Regions from separate parts of the Homo sapiens genome. Here regions 2, 3, 4 and 5 are each linked to region 1. Evidence: promoter capture Hi-C in 16 types of primary human blood cells and fetal thymus (Javierre and others, 2016). All regions are on one chromosome and are shown on one strand. Each heading gives the region's core, a stretch centred on a gene start or on the middle of the fragment in contact. The rest is flanking DNA. Distances are from core to core; before and after follow the strand shown.

What was found. Contacts are between HindIII fragments. The CHiCAGO score rates a contact against its expected background, and 5 or more counts as called.
Region 2: a fragment that was not itself captured here is called in contact with the fragment with the promoter of NOB1 in region 1 in 2 of 17 cell types (endothelial precursors and activated CD4 T cells); the score reaches 6.5 in endothelial precursors.
Region 3: a contact is called between the fragment with the promoter of CYB5B here and the fragment with the promoter of NOB1 in region 1, in 2 of 17 cell types (neutrophils and activated CD4 T cells). The highest score is 7.2, in neutrophils.
Region 4: the fragment with the promoter of TERF2 here is called in contact with the fragment with the promoter of NOB1 in region 1 in 13 of 17 cell types (neutrophils, endothelial precursors, megakaryocytes and 10 more); the score reaches 13.9 in neutrophils.
Region 5: a fragment that was not itself captured here is called in contact with the fragment with the promoter of NOB1 in region 1 in 8 of 17 cell types (neutrophils, activated CD4 T cells, endothelial precursors and 5 more); the score reaches 11.4 in neutrophils.

What each region holds. Positions count from the first base shown.
Region 1 is chr16:69,752,699-69,756,346 of GRCh38, forward strand. NOB1 (NIN1 (RPN12) binding protein 1 homolog) reads right to left here and starts at 2,228. Exons shown (of 9, transcript NM_014062.3): 1 at 2,150-2,228; 2 at 1,896-2,028. The coding sequence starts at 2,212. It also overlaps the pseudogene NONOP1. RefSeq lists enhancers at 1,274-1,897, 1,898-2,520. The HindIII fragment of the contact is 2,537 bases long and covers 830-3,366 here.
Region 2 is chr16:69,365,169-69,368,909 of GRCh38, forward strand. It overlaps TERF2 (telomeric repeat binding factor 2), which reads right to left. Exons shown (of 10, transcript NM_005652.5): 6 at 3,208-3,314; 7 at 1,639-2,031. Among named protein-coding and RNA genes, the nearest start is that of TMED6, 15 kb to the left of the region's middle. The HindIII fragment of the contact is 725 bases long and covers 2,114-2,838 here.
Region 3 is chr16:69,422,542-69,426,075 of GRCh38, forward strand. CYB5B (cytochrome b5 type B) reads left to right here and starts at 2,078. Exons shown (of 5, transcript NM_030579.3): 1 at 2,078-2,316. The coding sequence starts at 2,143. RefSeq lists enhancers at 1,361-1,908, 1,909-2,456. The HindIII fragment of the contact is 7,938 bases long and covers 1-3,159 here.
Region 4 is chr16:69,384,259-69,387,933 of GRCh38, forward strand. It overlaps TERF2 (telomeric repeat binding factor 2), which reads right to left and starts at 1,749. Exons shown (of 10, transcript NM_005652.5): 1 at 1,335-1,749; 2 at 1,133-1,228; 3 at 322-452. The coding sequence starts at 1,713. RefSeq lists a silencer at 1,365-1,744. The HindIII fragment of the contact is 13,848 bases long and covers 1-3,675 here.
Region 5 is chr16:69,402,231-69,406,059 of GRCh38, forward strand. No RefSeq gene overlaps it. Among named protein-coding and RNA genes, the nearest start is that of TERF2, 18 kb to the left of the region's middle. The HindIII fragment of the contact is 499 bases long and covers 2,110-2,608 here.

The DNA.
Region 1 (3,648 bases), core at 978-3,477:
GGAGGCAGAGGTGGGCGGATCACTTGAGGTCAGGAGACCAGCCTGGCCAACGTGGTGAAACCTGTCTCTAATAAATATACAAAAATTATCCCGGTGTGGTAGCGGGGGGGCCTGTAATCCCAGCTACTCAGGAGGCGGAGGCAGGAGAATTGTTTGAACCTGGGAGGCGGAGGTTGCAGTGAGTCAAGATTGCGCCACTGCACTCCAGCCTGGGCGACAGAGTGAGACTCCTTCTCAAAAAAAAGAAGAAAGTTGGGGCGTGGTGGCTCACACCTCACTACAGGAGGCTGAGGTGGGTAGATCACTTGAGGTCAGGAGTTCCAGACCAGCCTGGCCAACATGGTGAAACCCCTTGTCTCCTAAAAATACAAAAGTTAGCCAGGTGTGGTGGCGTGTGCCTGTAGTCCCAGCTACTGGGGAGGCTGAGGCAGAAGAATTGCTGGAACCCAGGAGGTGGAGGCTGCAGTGAGCCAAGATCGTGCCACTGCACTCCAGGCTAGGCAACACAGCCAGACTCCATCTCAAAAAAAAAAAAGTTTCAGATTTAGGAGCATTCTGGATTTCAGATTCAGTATGCTCAACTTGTAATTGTAGTAGTCTATGAGGAAACAAAAAGCATGTGCTTAATGCATAATACATGTCAGACTGCTGTTATTCTCCAGAGTCATCCATAATAAACACTTAAAATTTCCTGAAATTAACAGAAAGATGTCTCCTGCTACCCTGGTACAAGGAACACTAGGTATATTGCTCTTATTTCCTAAAAAACAGACATTAGCAGCAACGAAAATTTACTGTGCACTTACTGTGTACTAGGCACTGCATTAAAAGCTTTATGTGTTAATGCATTTCATCCTTTGCCATTCTTCAAAAGTACTATTAGTATTTCCTCGGAAAGATTTAGTAAGTTGGCAAAGATCACAGAGCTACTAAGTTGGTGGAGAAAATCGTAGAAATCACAAACAGAGGAGGTAACATCATCTCCACTATCAGCCTCTAACCTCTAAAACACTTCCAACCACTGAGGGGCCTTTCCTGGGTATCACCTTGATTCCCAACAAGAGAACAACGCTGACTCCTAAGCCAAGAGACAATTCTTTAATTTTCTTTATTTCTTATTTTTTTTGAGACAGAGTCTCGCTCTGTCGCCCAGGCTGGAGTGCAGTGGTACGATCTCGGCTCACTGCAACCTCCACCTCCAGGTTCAAGCAATTCTCCTGCCTCAGCCTCCCAAGTAGCTGGGATTACAGGAGCACACCACCACGCCCAGCTAATTTTGTATTTTTAGTAGAGGCAGGGTTTCACCATGTTGGTCAGGCTGGTCTCAAACTCCTGACCTCAGGTGATGCGCCCGCCTCGGTCTCCCAGTGCTGGGATTACAGGCCGTAAGCCACCGCGCCCAGCTTAATTTTCTTTCACATTTAATACAATGCAAAGCATTCCCTTTTTAAAGCTCTGCCAGGTGCAGATCTTTGTATCCAGTCATCAGCCCAATCTACTGAAAAGAAATGGACGAGAGTAATAGCAAGAGATCCAAACTCTTATTTTAAATCCAAATAAATTTATTGCTTGTCTGCAAAGTGCTTGACACTGAGCTGACTGCCATATTCCTCAGTTCATGCTCACAGCAACCTTGGAGACAGATACAATTATTATTCCCATTTTGCGGATGAGGTAAACGAGGCCCAAATTTGAATGCTATGCCCGAGAGCATACAGCTAGTTACTGGAGGACTCCAGACCCAGGAAGCCTCTCTCCTACCACAATCTCCTAGAAAGTGCTGGCTCTAAATCTACTGCTCTGATAAGGCAGCTAGACCCCAACTCGCACCCAACTGGGTGCCATCTGCGCCCTGGACCCCAGCTTCCCGTCAACGCTAGGGCAGAGGCACTCACCCAGCCGCACGTATTCCGGTAAGGGCTCCTTGAACCGCAGCTCGTAGGGCAGGACAGCGAGCCGCCTGCGTGTGGCCTTGTCCCGAATCTCAGTGACCACCTCCCGGATGGTGTAAATGTTCTTCCCGATGTCCTGCGGACAGAACGCCCCAGCTCAGACCCACCCGCACCAAGCAACGCTCCGCGCGACTCCACGCACTCCGGGAGGGGCGGCCAGCCCAGATCTCTCTCGTCCCGGAGGGAGCTCCCCGTACCTGCAGAGCCGCATGCCGCAGGAAAGCCCCAGCATCCGCCACAACGTGCTCCACTGGAGCCATGTTGGCTGCGTGAGAGGGGAGCGCGCATGCGCACGGAGCTTGCGCCGGCTCCTATGTCCAAGTCTGGGCCTCTGGGAACCAGGAAGAGCAGCCGCGACTTAGCTGCGCCTCCTGGCGGCCGCGCCAGCACCTCCCTGCTCTACTCGCGCGCATGCGCAGCGACGCCGCCCGCATAGCCAGAGAAGTGTGGGCGGGGTCAAACCTTGGGGGACACCTGGGAAATCGGCTTCAGCATCTAGACCTTAGTGCCTTCTTCACCTTTGAAGATAAAACCTGCCAGGTGTAGTGGTGCGCGCCTAGAGTCCCAGCTATTAAGGAGGCTGAGGCGAAAGGATTGCCTGAGCCCTGGAATGTGAAACCAGCCTGGGCAACATAGAGAGACCCCCATCTCTTCAATAAATAAATAAATTTAAAACCTGTATATATTCTTATGGTTAAAAGTCAATCAATACAGATTACCTAATTTCGTTATCACAGCACCCCTATGAGATAGGTACTGTTTTTTTTTAAAGGCTTAAAATGTATTTTAATAGGTCGATGCTGCATTACTGCTCCAGTTCTCAGAAAAACTCCAAATATATCAGAGACAAATCAAATACAATACACCAATGGAAAAAAAAGGCACAGCATGACTACCTAAGATAGGCGAGTCTAAGAGCTACTGTCAGACCTTCAGTATACAGTAACCCTGTTCCCAAGATTGTACTAGGCCTATCAAGAAAAGCTGTGAACAGCAGTATCATAGACACAAAAGGGTCATTCCTGGGTGTCCTCACCCAAGAAAAAGATGGAGGCAAGTTAACACAAGATTTTTTTTTAAAGATATACTAAAATGAAAATCTCTAAGAGAAAATGTCTTCTTTAGGACATGAAGGGGTAATATATGGGATATAATAGAACCGTATGTACGTTGCCTGTGACCTTTGTGGACGTTTACCTGAATTCTCACCTGGGAGTGAATGGAGCAATGCGGCTAAGGTCATTGGGGGATGTTTGGTTTTTGTGGTGTATGTGGCAGTTTCTCTGGGACTGGGGGAGTGTAAGGATAAGAAAGCAAGTGAGGTTGGGCACGGTGGCTCACCCCTGTAATCCCAGCATTTTGGGAGGCTGAGGCAGGGGATCACGAGGTCAGGAGTTCAAGATCAGCCTGGACAAGCTTGAACCCGAGAGGCAGAGATTGCAGTGAGCCGAGATCGTGCCACTACACTCCAGCCTGGGCGACAGAGTAAGACTCCATCTCGGGGGCAGGGCAAGCAAATGAAACAAGATGGACAAAAAAAAAAAAAAAAAAAAACAACAAACAAACCAAAAAAACAGAATGATCAAGATTAATGGGCTCTAACTGGATCTACTTTGCCATGGTTTCCCCAGGCCCTCAACAATCACATTTGAGACTTCAGGAATGCACCACACAGAACTGATTAAATAATATACTA
Region 2 (3,741 bases), core at 1,226-3,725, 390 kb before region 1:
TGTTCCCGGGAGCAATACCTATAGTGCACAGGATTGCTGTGAGAAGCCAATGAGATCCTGTATCAAATGAGAATAACATGCATGGAGCTGCATCCACTGCCCAGCAGCTATGCCCATTTGCCAGCCGGTGACTCACTTCTACATACAAGTAGTGGTGACATAGTGCAAATCTGTGCCTGAGGATAAATCACTTATCAGATGCCACAGCCCTTTGGGGCACCAAGTACAATGCATGCCAGACCACAGGTCCCCAAATAATACAACACAGAGCAGAGGCAGAGGTGGCCTTGGGAGATCCATAAGGTGGATCACTAGTGGTGACCAGGGAGGAGTCTGTGGAGGAGGGAGAAGTTGTTTTTGTTTTTGTTTTTTTGAGACGGAGTCACACTCTGTTGCCCAGCCTGGAGTGCAGTGGTGCAATCTTGGCTCACTGTGCAGCCTCCGCCTCCCGGGTTCCAGTAATTCTCCTGCCTCAGCTTCCCAAGTAGCTGGGACTACAGGCGCCCACCACCACGCCTGGCGAATTTTTGTATTTTTAGTAGAGACGGAGTTTCACCATGTTGGCCAGGCTGCTCTCAAACTCCTGACCTCAGGTAATCTGCCTGCCTCAGCCTCCCAAAGTGCTGGGATTACAGGTGTGAGCCAGCGCACCCAGCCTGAGGAAGGAGAATTGTAAGAGAGGCAACTTGTTGTATATGGTATACAGGCCATGGGCTTTTCTGTCAAGACTGACTTGGATTAAAAATCCAAAGCCCATCTTTGCCACTTTTAGCTGTGTGACTTCAGGTGAGCTAAGAACTTTTCTGAGCCCTTCTCCTCTGTGTAATGGGGCTAATATATCATCACCTCACAGAGTGAGGATTGTAGTGACTCAGTAAGATGATACATGAAAGTGCTCTGCCCCCAGAAAGCACTTCATCAACAACGGCTTTTCTTCCCTTTAAAGGACAAATGGGATTTGGACAAGCAATGATGAAGGGATGACGGTCCACTGTGGGGAATGAGAGGAAGCAAAAGTACAGTGGTAGAAACAAACAACATGTTCCAGAGAGCAAGCAGGCCAGTCTGCCTGGAGGGAGGATCCACCACAGGACACAAAGGGAAGCAAAACTCAAAGCCAGGATGAGAATCACAATGGGGAGCAAAATTAAAGTATTCTAGCCACTGCCCCACAGTACCTAGCAGGACATGGGAGATTAGTAAGTATTCACTGAACTTGCCAAGTCTCAAATGCTCAGAAGGGTGCAAAATTATACATATTCATCAGTCTCTTTTTAAGGGTCAAAGTATAATGTGGCCCAATGCAAACAAATTTCTTTTAACACACAAGACTAATGTTTAGAAGTCAAGACACTCAGATGTTTGCTAAAAATGAAAGCAGCGATGAGTAGGAGGCTCTGAAACCTTTCCATTCCCACTCATGCCCTAGTGCAAGGCTTGGAAGCCCACATGCGGGGCTTCAGAACCGGCAGGGATGGCTACGTCGTCACTGGCCACTCCTGCGTCAAGTTCTAGCAGTCTGAGCAAGCCTTGGTGGTGAGTAACTTAGCTGAAAGTTACTTCATTCACGGAAGTAATACCAGGCCCAACCAGGACCACCAACCAGCCCCAAAATTTCTACAAAGAAGGTCTTCATACTTGGGATTCTTCTCTCCAGGGAGGGGTTGGTTGAGAACGGTGGGCTTGGATGGTGGCGCTGAAGCGGCCTCCTGGGAGGAGTTGAGGCCTGCGCTGGGCTCAGTACTCTGGCTGTCCTCCTCCAAGACCAATCTGCTTATTGTCATGCGCTTGTTCTTGGGCTGCAGTTCCGAGCCACCCTCACCGTCAGCCGGGGCTGAACTTTCGTTTTCATCTTTTCTGGGTCTCTTGTTTTTGAGGGCTGGTGATGCTGGGAGAGCTTGAGTAGGAAGAACCAGATCCTTCTGGTCCAGTTTTGCAAAGGCTGCCTCAGAATCCTGTGCACCAGACAGAGTCTTGAAAGCTGCTTTCAGAGTCATCATTCCAATGGTGGTTGGAGGATTCCGTAGCTGCCTGCAAATCAAGCATAGGCACAAAGATGTTTTTCACCACTGATGATGCTCATCCAAACAGCCACAACTTTTTTGAAGTTTGAAGCTTCAAATTCCAGTTGAGGAGGCTTTAAATGTGATATGTAAGTTGTATTATGAATTTAAAACTCCAAGTTAGAGAACCTTTATTTTACTTCTCATTTTATTTTTAGAGATAGGGTCTGGGTCTGTCCTAGACAGTAGATAGGACAGAGAGATAGGATACAGTGGCACAAACACAGCTCACTGTATCCTAGAACTCCTGGGCTCAAGCGATCCACCCACCTCGGCCTCCCAAAGTGCTGGGATTACAGGCGTGATCCACCACACCCGGCCTACAACACACTTAAGAGCAGGATCTTGAGAATTCTCAGAGTAAAAGGCATGCCACACAGTCTTGGAACAATGAGAAACTGCCTTTTAAAAATAAAGTTCATCTATCATTTGGAACAGTTAGTATGCTTTAGGGAAAAACTGTTAGGAGAGGGGGCAAACTGGCAGCCTGCAGGCCAAATCCATCTGGCAGCCTGTCTTGTTGTCTAACCAACATGAAAAAAAATTTTTTAAGTGGATCAACTGTTAACATCCAAAAACTGGGAAATCTCATGGAAAACCCTGGACATCTCATACAAAAATCTGAGCACCTGAAGCCTGAGCATCCTTGGATACTCCCACAGAGCAACAACCACAAGAAGCTGAAAAGCACATCCCCTGGTTCCCAGCCCCATGCTCTCAGCCTAGGTCCACTTTGTTCCTTTAGGTTTCCTAACCGGCCCTCAAAGGGCATCTAAGCTTGTGACCCCTGCTTTAGGAACTGGTTTTGGGATTCGACTCACAGATCTGAGCAGTGCTTCCTGAATGTATTAAGAGATTAGGTGTCCACAAGAAAAGTACTGAGTCAATACGGGGGAGGCAAGGAGAGAGAAATGGTGAAAGAGCCTTTGAGGAATGGCCAGTCAGGAAGTTGTCAGGGACCCCAGGCATCCTGTTTCCTTATCTTCCCAGGGTGTGCAGTCTCCCCCAGTGCCTTGTATGAGTAACCTCGTAACACGTTAGTAGGTCGGAGTGCTGAGAGGAACTGATCCTGGCCTAAGGAGGAGACTGCTTCCAGCGACCACCCTAGTGTTTTACCCAAGATCACAAGAGAGCATCTTTTTACCTTGCGGGTTCTCTGGGTGGCTTTTCCACAGGCCCTGGTGCTGGCTGTTTATCTTCCTTCCCTGTACTTGAGGCAGCGGACTCAGATTTCAAAGCCTTTTTGGCCATCTGGGAAAGGAAGGATGTCATCAGGAAGAAGAGGCCACAGAATTGCATTAATTCTCTGCTTCTTTCACCAAGAATATACTCAATATGCAAACAAGTTCACTTACAAATCCAATCTAGGCATAAAACGAAGGACATAAAATGGGAGAGAACTTGTAAGACTTATAAATCAAGCTTTTTTTATTCAAACTTAAGATAACTAATACATTTTTTTTGAGAGGGAGTCTTGCTCTGTCGCCCAGGCTGCAGCACAGTGGTGCAATCTCGGCTCACTGCAATCTCCACCTCCTGGGTTCAAGCAATTCTCCCATCTCGGCCTCCCAAGTAGCTGGGATTACAGGCGCCCACCACCATGTCCAGTTAATTTTTGTATTTTAGTAGAGACGGGGTTTCACCATGTTGGCCAGGCTGGCCTCGAACTCCTGACCTC
Region 3 (3,534 bases), core at 828-3,327, 330 kb before region 1:
CAGGCTCAAGCCATCCCCAGATCTCAGCCTCTCAAATATCTGGGATTACAGTTGTGTGCCACCATGCGTAGATAATTTTTGTATTTTTTGAAGAGACAAGAGCCTCACTATGTTGCCCAGCCTGGTCTTGAACTCCTGGGCTCAAGTGATCTGTCCACCTCGGCCTCCCAAAGTGCTGGAATTACGGGGCTTGAGCCACCACATTCAGCCTGTAAATGTTTTTATTTCTTTCAGAGATTTTGTTTCTTATGTTATCTCTCTACTCCCAATGCCTATCATAAGACTTGTAACAGTAAATAGTAAATGTCTGGAATAAATGTAAATATTTGAATCTAGAGTTTGTGGAGGATCCTAAGAATCTTGTGAGATTGCTCTCATAGTGTCAGTCTAACTAGGGAGGTAAAATACGTAAAGTTAAAATTTACAGACGTAGCAGGCTTCCCAAAATAGTAATATGCTTTCTTAGGTACTACAAAGGGATGGAAGCACTGGAGCTCAAAACGGTAGGAGAAGTTTGAAAATAGAAGAAACTGAAGAGGAACTTGAAAAGCCGGTAGGCATTGAAAGGAAGAGGAGTCCTTGGGACAGCAATTGAGGGTAGAATGTGGAGTATCCCATGTTTCTACCACCATTCAGAATCCGATTTTCAAATGAATTCTGTGATGATCAGGATCAATCTGCACTATTTTAGTCTCTAAGTGATCTAAAATTAACTTGGTGGACCTGGGATGACCACGGATGTGGTTTTAAACCAGCAGGTTTCAGAGTCGGGGCGGGTGCAACAGGCTTATAAAGGGAATGGTGGAAAATATTATACGTTAGTGAAAGAGGTTGCGAATGGATTGTGGAGAGCCCTGAATGGTAGACTGCGAGAGTGACAGGATGAAAACGACGACATCATAGGAAGAGCAATCTGTCAGTTGTAATGGCAGTTAAAAAGTGGCGCACAACACTGTACCTTAACCAAACTTGGAATTCCAAAGTGCTGGGACCTCTAGCGGAGAGCAGTTGAGTTCAATTCTATTTTAGATCACGTAGAGACTAAAATAGTGCCGATTGATCCTGATCATCACAGAATTCGTTTGAAAATCGGATTCTGAATGATGGTAGAAACATAGGATACTCCACATTCTACCCCCAATTGCTGTCCGGGACAGCAATTGCCTTTCTAATCGACTGCCATGTTTAGCGATTACTATGCGCCAAGCGCTTTACAGGCACTCTCATTAAAATAGGCAAACCGGGCCAGGCGCGGTGGCTCACGCCTGTAATCCCAGCACTTTGGGAGGCCTACGCAGGCGGATCACCTGAGGTCAGGAGTTCGAGACCAGCCTGGCCAACATGGTGAAACCTACTCTCTACTAAAAATACAAAAATTAGCCGGGCGTGGTGGCGCATGCCTGTAGTTCCAGCTAGTCGAGAGGCTGAGGTAGGAGAATCGCTTGAACCTGGGAGGCGGAGTTTGCAGTAAGCCGAGATCGTGCCACTGCACTCTGGCCTAGGAGACAGAGCGAGAACTTGTCTCAAAAAAAAAAAAAAAAAAAAAAAAGGCAAACCCCTCTGTAAGAGAGTGCTTTATCAAGCCCATTTTACTGATGGGGAAATTGAGGAGAGACGGGATTGGCCAGATCACGACCTGGAGGCAGCAAAGATGTAAAATCAGGGTTGGGATACAGGCTGCGCCGGTAGTGTAGGGGATAGGAACTTTCTGAGACTCAGGAGAAAGCCACAGCGATGGGAAGGGAAGCAGAACACTGGAGACCCTAAAGGCCCACAGGCTGAGAGAAGTGGTACCTCTCCTGAAGTGACACCTGTCAGCACGCCTCTTTTGGGCGCCAGTCCAAAAATCGCGGTATCTGATTGGCGAGGTTGGAGGGGGCTGAACGACCCTAATTGGTTAGTTGGACCTCGAACCAGACTTTCATCTGGAGGATCGGGCGAGGAGTGGGCGGGATTTCGAACTGAGCCACTCCCTTCATTGGTGAAAAGAAAACGAACCAGGAACTATTCGGAAGTGTGATTGGCTGTTGCTAGGAACCGTCTCAAGGCCTTATGGGCCCTGGTTACGGAAGCCGAGGAAGGCTGAGCGCGGGCTCTCAAGGAAAGTAGTCGCGGAATCTCAGTTAGCGGTGGAGAGGCAGTATGTCCGGTTCAATGGCGACTGCGGAAGCTAGCGGCAGCGATGGGAAAGGGCAGGAAGTCGAGACCTCAGTCACCTATTACCGGTTGGAGGAGGTGGCAAAGCGCAACTCCTTGAAGGAACTGTGGCTTGTGATCCATGGGCGAGTCTACGATGTCACCCGCTTCCTCAACGAGGTGGGGCCTGGGAGGTGGGAGGCCTCTGAAGCTGCTGGGGCGAGGGGTGAAAAGGCTGTGTGGAGTGTATGTGGGAAGGAAGGGAGGCTTGGCTGGGGGCGATAAGGCGTAAGAAAGGGATCACGACCCTCAGAGGGAAACTGGGGTGGGATTGGGGGAGGGCTTTAGTTTGCATGCATTTCCAGTCAGCTCCGAGTTCTGGTGCCTTATGTAATATCATGTATTACTTATGTGTCGAGCATTTGCTGTGTGCTCAGCTAAACTCTAAGCCATCATTATCTTTATTTTACAGAAAGGGAAACTGAGGCTCACAGGTTGAGGACTCTCAGGGCCATAGAGTTAGCAGCTTAGATCCGTTGAACCTAGGTCTGAAGTGCACCCACATCTGTGCTTTTCCAGTGTGCCTTCTGAAGTAATACCGGTTTTGGTTTTCGTCTTCTAGAGTAGAAGCTGAGATTTCTCTCCACACGCTTCCCCATCTTGATTATGCCTCCACTGTTTTTTTTTCCCCCTAATCTGAGTTGACCTTGAGGCCAGAAACTCATAAATCAACCCTTTTTTTTTGTTTTTGACTCATGTTTTGTCATTTTTCTTAAATATTCAAGACTGTTTTATTTAATCTTCAAGTCTGTTGCATTACATCTCATTTTAAAAATTATTTTTGAGACCATGGTGCAACTAATTTTTTTTTTAAGGAAACAGGATAGACTTCTAAATATTTAAAACTTTATTGAGGTGTAATGTACATACGTAAATTGTGCCTATCTAAAATGTACATTTTGATGAGTTTTGAAAAATGTATTCATCCATGTTAAGACATAAACCATTTCCATCATTCTAAAAAGCTTCCTTTCCCTTTGCAGTCATTCTCTCCCAACCCCAGGCAACTAGTGATATGCAGCCGCTAAAGATTGGTTTGAAGCTTTGATTTTCGGTGTGTGTATGTTTGAAGCTTTGATTTTCGGTTTGTGTGTGATCATTTTATTTTGAGCAATAGATTAATGACTTGTGAAAGTTCACTTCTATTTCTCTGAAGCAAATATACTAGTGAAATATTTTTTCGATTAATTTGGGGCCTAAAAGAGAAATCTCTGCATCCTGACTTTTAATTCTAAAAACTTTTAAAATTTAAAAGTTTCCCCCAAAGAACATTATTTTTAATAAATCTTAATAGTGAACAATAATTTAACAAACTCAGAATTTACTAACTTCTTGCAT
Region 4 (3,675 bases), core at 499-2,998, 370 kb before region 1:
CAAACCCTAGGCCAGAGTTACTTAAGGCCCTTGTAGAGTGCTCCCGAATGGTGCAGTAACCTCCAAAATGTCAGAGCTTCAATGCCAAAGCCACAAGGAAGACCACCCAAATCACAAAAACTGAGCAACTGCCATTACTTCCCAAGCCTGGGTGGGAAAGGAGACACCTGAAGAAATAACGTCTGTGTGTGTGCTTTCTTGCTTGCTCAATCTCTCCCCATTGCTGTTTTCCTCTGCCCCACACAGTAAAGAGTAAGTGCTGTATCCTCAAAGACCCTTGATTTTTGGTCAAAGAAAAAAGATATAAAAATAGAGCCTTACAGCTTCCTTGACCAGTTTTCTACTGGATTCGACCACTGCTTCTGTCAGTGTAAATTCCGTTTTAATCATCTCCAGCACATTGATAGCTGATTCCAGTGGTGTGAGCTCAGCCTCCATATCAAAGGAACAGTCTAGGACAAAGCACAGTTTTCATTTTTAAGCTCTTTTCTAAGGGTAAAAAAGTTATGTCCAAAAATTATATATATATATTTATGGAAATGGAGCATGCAAATATGGTAAGATTTGCATTTAATTTTTTGACATATTTGCTACAGGTTGACATACACGATAAGGGTCCAAATTCAAATCAATGAATTTAACGTGACCATTTTTTAACACCTGTCAAGACAGGCAAAAAAATTATTTTTAAATACCTGCATTTGCCTCTCAAATTCAGAATATACCCATCCTCCTCAGATACGAGTGGCAAGAAACTGACAACAGCTAAATAGCTTTCAAGTTAAATTCAGAGGGGAAAAATGTCAGAGTACTTCCACTCTGAAAAACTCTCTACCATGGGGGAAAAAAGATGTCCATATGAACATAACTCACTTTAGACAGGAGCAAAGTTGGGGTGAGCAATTAACAGGTGGGAGAAGATTTAAAAAAAACACAGAAAAGCAGCCAAGACAACCTTAACCGGAGAAAACTAGAGCCAGTCGAGCCAGAAAACAGACCCATCGTAGAATGAAAAAGACCACTCTGATGGAAACTATCGCACTTTAACCTGGAATCCTTCAGTTCTAGATATAAGTTTTAAAACAAAACCCTACGCAAGTAAGCCCAGAGAAGAACACAAAAATAGCCATACCTAAATTTTCCCCTTCTTCAATCCGCGACAGACACTGCATAACCCGCAGCAATCGGGACACGGTGTGCTCCTTCCCCAAGGGCCTGACAAGCAAAGCTGGGAGAGAAGACATCGTTGGCTGGGCGACCCCCAGTCCCGACTCCCGGTCCCCCGGACCCCCTTCCCCGGCGCTCCAACCCCCCTCCCCCGGCCCGGCCCTCACCCTGCATGATGTCCCGGATCTGTCTGAAGTCCCCGTACCGGCTACCCCGAAAGGCCCGCAGCGCCTCGTGGAAGTAGAACTTGAGCACCCAGCGATTGACTGCCTCTTCCAGCCGTGCCTCCCCCGCGCCGCGCTCCGCCGGGCCCCCCAGCCCCGGCTCGTGGCGCCCCCGCCGGGCCCGCCCGCTACTGCGGGACGCCCGCCTGCCAGCTGCCCGCCCGCTGCCGTCGCTACTCCCGCCTCCTCCCGCCATCGTGTCCGATCGCCGCGCGCCCTCCCCGCCCTCCCGGCCGGGCCGCTTCCTCGGCTGTGACGCCGCTGGGTCACGCACGACGCCCGGGCCGGAAGCGGGGCCCGCCGTCCCGGCTCCCGCGGCCATGATAGAAACAGCGTTCCGAGCCGCCCGCGGGCTTCTGGGAGGGAAAGGACCGGAGGGCCCGGCCCCCTTCTCAGACGCCGTAGTTCCCGATGTGCCGGCCGCAATGCCTCCTGGGGCTTGAAGTCCACACCGCCCAGGCCGGTGAACCCGGCGGGTTTTGCAGTCAACTTCGCTCCGAATTTACAGAAAACAGCTACTATGCTAGGGACGCGGAACAGTGTATTAGAGACTGAAAAACAGGCCGGGATCGGTGGCTCTACGCCTGTAATCCCAGCACTTTGGGAGGCTGAGGCGGGTGGATCACCTGAGGTCGGGAGTTCGAGACCAGCCTGACCAACATGGAGAAACCCCATCTCTACTAAAAATACAAAATTAGCCAGACGTGGTGGCGCATGCCTGTAATCCTAGCTACTCAGGAGGCTGAGGCAGGAGACTCGCTTGAACCCGCGAGGCGGAGGTTGCGGTGAGCCGAGATCGCGCCATTGCACTCCAGTCTGGGCAACAAGAGCGAAACTCCGTCTCAAAAAAAAGAAAAGAAAAAAAAGAAAACCAAATATGTGCACCTTATTAAACACTTTGAAAATTGTGGAAGAGAGCATACACAGAGGAAAGTCTTTAAACAAATTTGTATTTTAACAAATACTGTAATTATAAAGCAAAGACCAGTGTGATACCAATAAATAGAATGCACCTGGCAACCCAGCCGCTAGACATATACTCTTTGTAATCACAAAAATAACACATTTTGTTGTAGAACAATTAGAAAAATAAGCAAAAGGACCACCCATAGTCCCATAGAGGGTCTGAGTCACTTTCAGATATCTCTGATACTCTTGGAATTCACCAACTGGCACTTGACCAAATGGAGAACCTCCAGCTCAGACCTTAGTTCAGGATGGTGGTTGTGGGTGCCTCTTCCTGAGAGGCCCAGTAACTGGTCTAGCTTCAAAGATTGTCCTACCAGCCCCACTAGTCTGGAACCTGCAAAGATCCAGTTTGGGGCCACTCAAAGACAACTCAGAAGTGCAGGTGGCCATGTCCTTGAGGATGTGAATCCCATGCTGGACCTGTGAATTAATATCAGGACCTTAATATGTATAGTATCCTGGAAAGCCAAAAGTTCTATGAGGTACACGTTCCGGGATGAGAGAAGAGGCCTCTAGGTCTGACTGATCTTTGGTGATCATAGCTGCTTTTCTTTTTTTTCTTTGTTTTTCTTGAGATGGAATCTCGTTCTGTCGCCCAAGCTGGAGTGCAGTGGCACGATCTCGGCTCACTGCAAGCTCCGCCTCTGGGTTCATGCCATTCTCCTGCCTCAGCCTCCCGAGTGGCTGGGACTACAGGCGCCCACTACCATGCCCAGCTAATTTTTTGTATTTTTAGTAGAGACGGGGTTTCACTGTGTTAGCCAGGATGGTCTCCATCTCCTGACCTCGTGATCCGCCCGCCTCGGTCTCCCAAAGTGCTGGGATTACAGGCGTGAGCCACTGCGCCCGGCCCATGGCTGCTTTTCCATTCCAGCCTGCTTGCCTTAACCAGGAACCAAATCACTTGCCTTTATTTTAGTTTTTTTGAGAAAGTTTCACTCTGTAATGCAGGTTGGAGTGCAGTGGCACAATCGTGCTCACTGCAGCCTTGAACTCCTGGGCTCAAGTGATCCTCCTGCCTCAACCTCCCAAGTAGCTAAGACTACCAGCGTGTGCCACCATGCCTGGGTAATTTGAAATTTTTTTTCGTAGAATTAGGGGTCTTGCCGTGTTGCCCAGGCTGGTCTCGAACTCCTGGCCTCAAGCACTCCTCCCACCCTGGTCTCCTAAAGTGCTGGGGATTTCAGGGTTGAGCTACTATGCCTGGTGCCAAATCACTTGCCTTTCAATTCTAACTTTTTTTTTTTTTTTCTGAGACAGAGTCTTGTTCTGTTGCCCAGGCTGGAGTGCAGTGGCACGATCTTGGCTCACTGCA
Region 5 (3,829 bases), core at 1,109-3,608, 350 kb before region 1:
TAGGAACCTTCTGGAACACAGACATTCACAAAAAGAGTGCAGATTTCAGTGAAACTCCTCTTCCACGTGTCACTTTTTCATGTTATATACATAAACCCACATAATGGACCATAAAAGTTTCATAGACCTTCCTTGTCACACAACCAAGCAAATGTACAACTCAAAGGAAACCAGGAAAAGACACAAGAGGTGTCCAAGTTCAGCTTCAGGAGGTCTCTTTTCTATGCTCTTCCACTCCCCCCCTTCCTCCCACACAGATGTTCCCTATAAATGAGCTTGGCTCTATGCAGCTCATATCAGAATGGGATTGTCCAAAACAGTTTGAAGAGAGGAACTCACACTTCCTGAAATGATTATCTCTTGACATAAATTCAAATTTAGGAAGGAACCGTCTAAGCCTTTTATAAATACCCATGATGCCCATATGTGACTCAAGACTGATTTTGTTTCCTCCTGTCCTCTTGGTACCTCTTTTATCTTACTATAGTGATGCTATGGCTTCGGTTCATGACTACAGTGAGTGACAGCTGGGATCTGGCCCTTTCCTCCTGCCCCAATTCATAAATGGTGGGCGTTTCTCATATCTCGAGGGCCCAGGTGCTTGGAAATACTGCCAAATATTCCTTTCAACTTAAAAAAAATGTAATTATACTGGATTAGGTTATGCATTCACATAATTTAAAAATTCTGAGGATACAAAGAGTATAAAGTGAAATTTGTTTCCCCATCTATGTTGTCCAGTTGCCCAGTTCCCTTCCCCAGTTCTACCAGTTCCTAGAATACCTTCCCCTAGATAGATATTTTGTACATGTTTAAAATAACATGTTTTAAATATTTTTAGTAGAGACAGGGTTTCATCATGTTGGCCAGGCTTGTCTTTACAGGCCCAGCATGGTGGCTCACGCCTATAATGCTAGCACTTTGGGAGGCAGAGGCGGGTAGATTGCCTGAGCTCAGGAGTTCAAGACCAGCCTGGCCAATGTAGTGAAACTCCGTCTCTACTAAAATACAAAAAATTACCCAGGTGTGGTGGCGCATGCCTGTAGTCCCAGCTACTTGGGAGGCTGAAGCATGAGAATCTCTTGAACCCGGGAGGTGGAAAGTGCAGTGAGTTGAGATCGTGCCAGTGCACTCCAGCTTGGATGACAGGATGAGACTCTGTCTCCAAAAAAATTTTAAAAATAAAATAACACATTTATATTTTCTCCCCTCCTTTTATTTTTTTATTTTACATTAGCAATAGAACACTATATGGGCCAGGTGCAGTGGCTCATGCCTGTGGGCCGAGGTGGGTGGATCACCTGATGTCAGGAGTTCAAGACCAGCCTGGCCAACATAGTGAAACCTCGTCTCTATTAAAAATACAAAAATTAGCTGAGCGTGATGGTGGGCGCCTGTAATCACAGCTACTCGGGAGGCTGAGGCAGGAGAATCGATTGAACCCGGGAGGCAGAGGTTGCAGTGAGCTGAGATGGCGCCATTGCACTCCAGCCTGGGCGAAAAAGCGAAACTCCATCTCTATCTCAAAAAAAAAAAAAAAAAAAAAAGAAAAGAAAAAAAAGAAAGAAAGAAAAAGAAATTAGAGAAGTATCTGGGATTTAGAAAGTTCAGAAAACTTGGAGAAGGGCCTTTGGCCCATGCGGTGGTTACTGAGATGCTCATTGTTTACGTGCAGTTGACTTCAAGATAGAAGGTTCAACCTCAGTGTCAAGCTCAACCTCCAGGACCCTCTTGGAGACTTCCAAGACCTAGGATGGCTGGGCATTCAGTGCTTTGGGAGCTGCCATCCTTCACCTGCTAGGGTTCTGTGTGGGATCGGGGTGGGGGTCTCTGTTACTCAGGAAACTGCCCTCCCTTCCTCCCAATTAGATTTGCACTTTATTACTTTTTTTCTTTAGCTTTTTTCGAGATGGACTTATACTTAAAAAAACCTGCTCTTAGATAATGGGTGGCAGGGGGGTAGAGGGGATTTGAGAAGACCTGGAAAATTCCCAGGTCTCCACTAAATAAGAAAACTGGAGAGTAAGGGGACTGGAGAGGAACGGAGAAAGAAATGTATTTTCTTTTCTTCTTGTAATCAGAACTGTAGCTTGCAATATTTTTTTCCCAAGCTTCTAAGAGAGTTTTGCAAACAATTGGAGTAATTAAAAGTTCTCAGAAGTAGCCGATGGTGCCCTTTTCACCGAGGGAATGTGGGCCAAGCATGATATATTAAAAGAGAGGGAGCTGCTCTATTGAAGTTAAAAATAATCTGTCACATGGCTAATTTGTTGGAATGCAGCAATAAAGGGCTGTGGGCAGAGGGAGAGCTGGAAGCAGCTGGGAAGTTTGCAGGCAGAGTGCACGCCCTGGGGACTGTGTTTGTAGGGAGAGAAAACAGTGTTACAGCTGCCTTAGGGCACCTTATCAGAAAACCCACAAAATGGGCAGGAAGAAGGAAGAGTAGGTTTGAGTCCAGAGCATGACCTTTGGGCTTATCAGACAGTGAAGGGATGGGTCAGAACTTGTCACCTGTGTTCACGGGATGCTGATTCACTCAGCAAGGATGAAGTCTTTTCAGATCCCCCTGCATTTGAATCCGTTTCAAAGGAATACATAATTCAAAGGAAGCTTTTGATCCGAAATCCATGGGAAAACCAATCTATAGGGTCTTGAGCGAAAAAAGTTCAAGCCAGGAATACAAATCCTAGTTTGGGGGATTGGGGATATTATAATTTTTGAAATGTTAGAGTTGAAAGAGAGAAAACAAATTATTTAGTATAATCCCTGAATTTTCCCTTCCTTCCTTCCTTCCTTCTTTCTTTCTGTCTTCTTCTTTTTTTTTTTTTTTTTTGAGACAGAGTCTTGCTCTGTTGCCTGGGCTGGAGTGCAGTGGCTCGATCTTGGCTCACTGCAACCTCTGCCTCCCGGGTTCAAGTGATTCTCCTGCCTCAGCCTCCTGAGTAGCTGGGACTACAGGCATGCACCACTGCGCCCACCTAATTTTTGTATTTTTAGTAGAGATGGGGTTTCACCATGTTGGTTAGCCAGGATGGTCTCGATCTCTTGACCCTGTGATCTGCCTGCCTCGGCCTCCCAAGTGCTGGGATTACAGGTGTGAGCCACCACGCCCGGCCTACTCCCTGAATTTTCTACATGAGGCAACAGGCTCAAAGAGGTTGATTTGCTCAAGGTCACTCAACCAGCAAGTAACAGAGCTAGATTCAAACCCAGGTCTTTAGCTAGAAAGGAAGGGCATAGTGGTTAGCAAATATAGGGTTCAGAATGCCCTGATGTCAAATCCTGGCTCTACCAGCAGGACCCTTGGGCAAGTTTCTAACTCCTCTCAGTGTTAGTTTCATCATCTGTAAGATGGGAATAACAATAGTACCCACTAGAATTGCTACAATGTATGTAAAGTGCTAAGTATGACATCCAGCCTAGAGGAAAGGCTTAATCAAACACTAGATGTTATCATGCCACAGCTTTTTCATCACCCTGCATCAAATTTCTAGAGCTTTCCGCAGATTAACTTGTCCAAACATCCTCTTTGGTTTGGGTGGGATTCTCTTTCTCCCTTTCCCACCTCCAACTCTCACCCATTATATATAAAGAAAAAGAGGGTGGCCGAACTTTAACCTCTCTATCCTCTGGTAGACACTTTCGCTAGCATTTCCTACATTGTAACACACCCATGAGACTTGTTTTCTCTTAAGCTACATGCCCTCCGGCCTGTATTTTCAGTATGGTTTCCAAGTTGCTGACAGGCAGAAACGGTGCCAACATGAAGAAGCAAGTATTGCTGCCCCAAATGCAGCAGCAAGATGTGTTTGAATGTTTTAGAATAGAT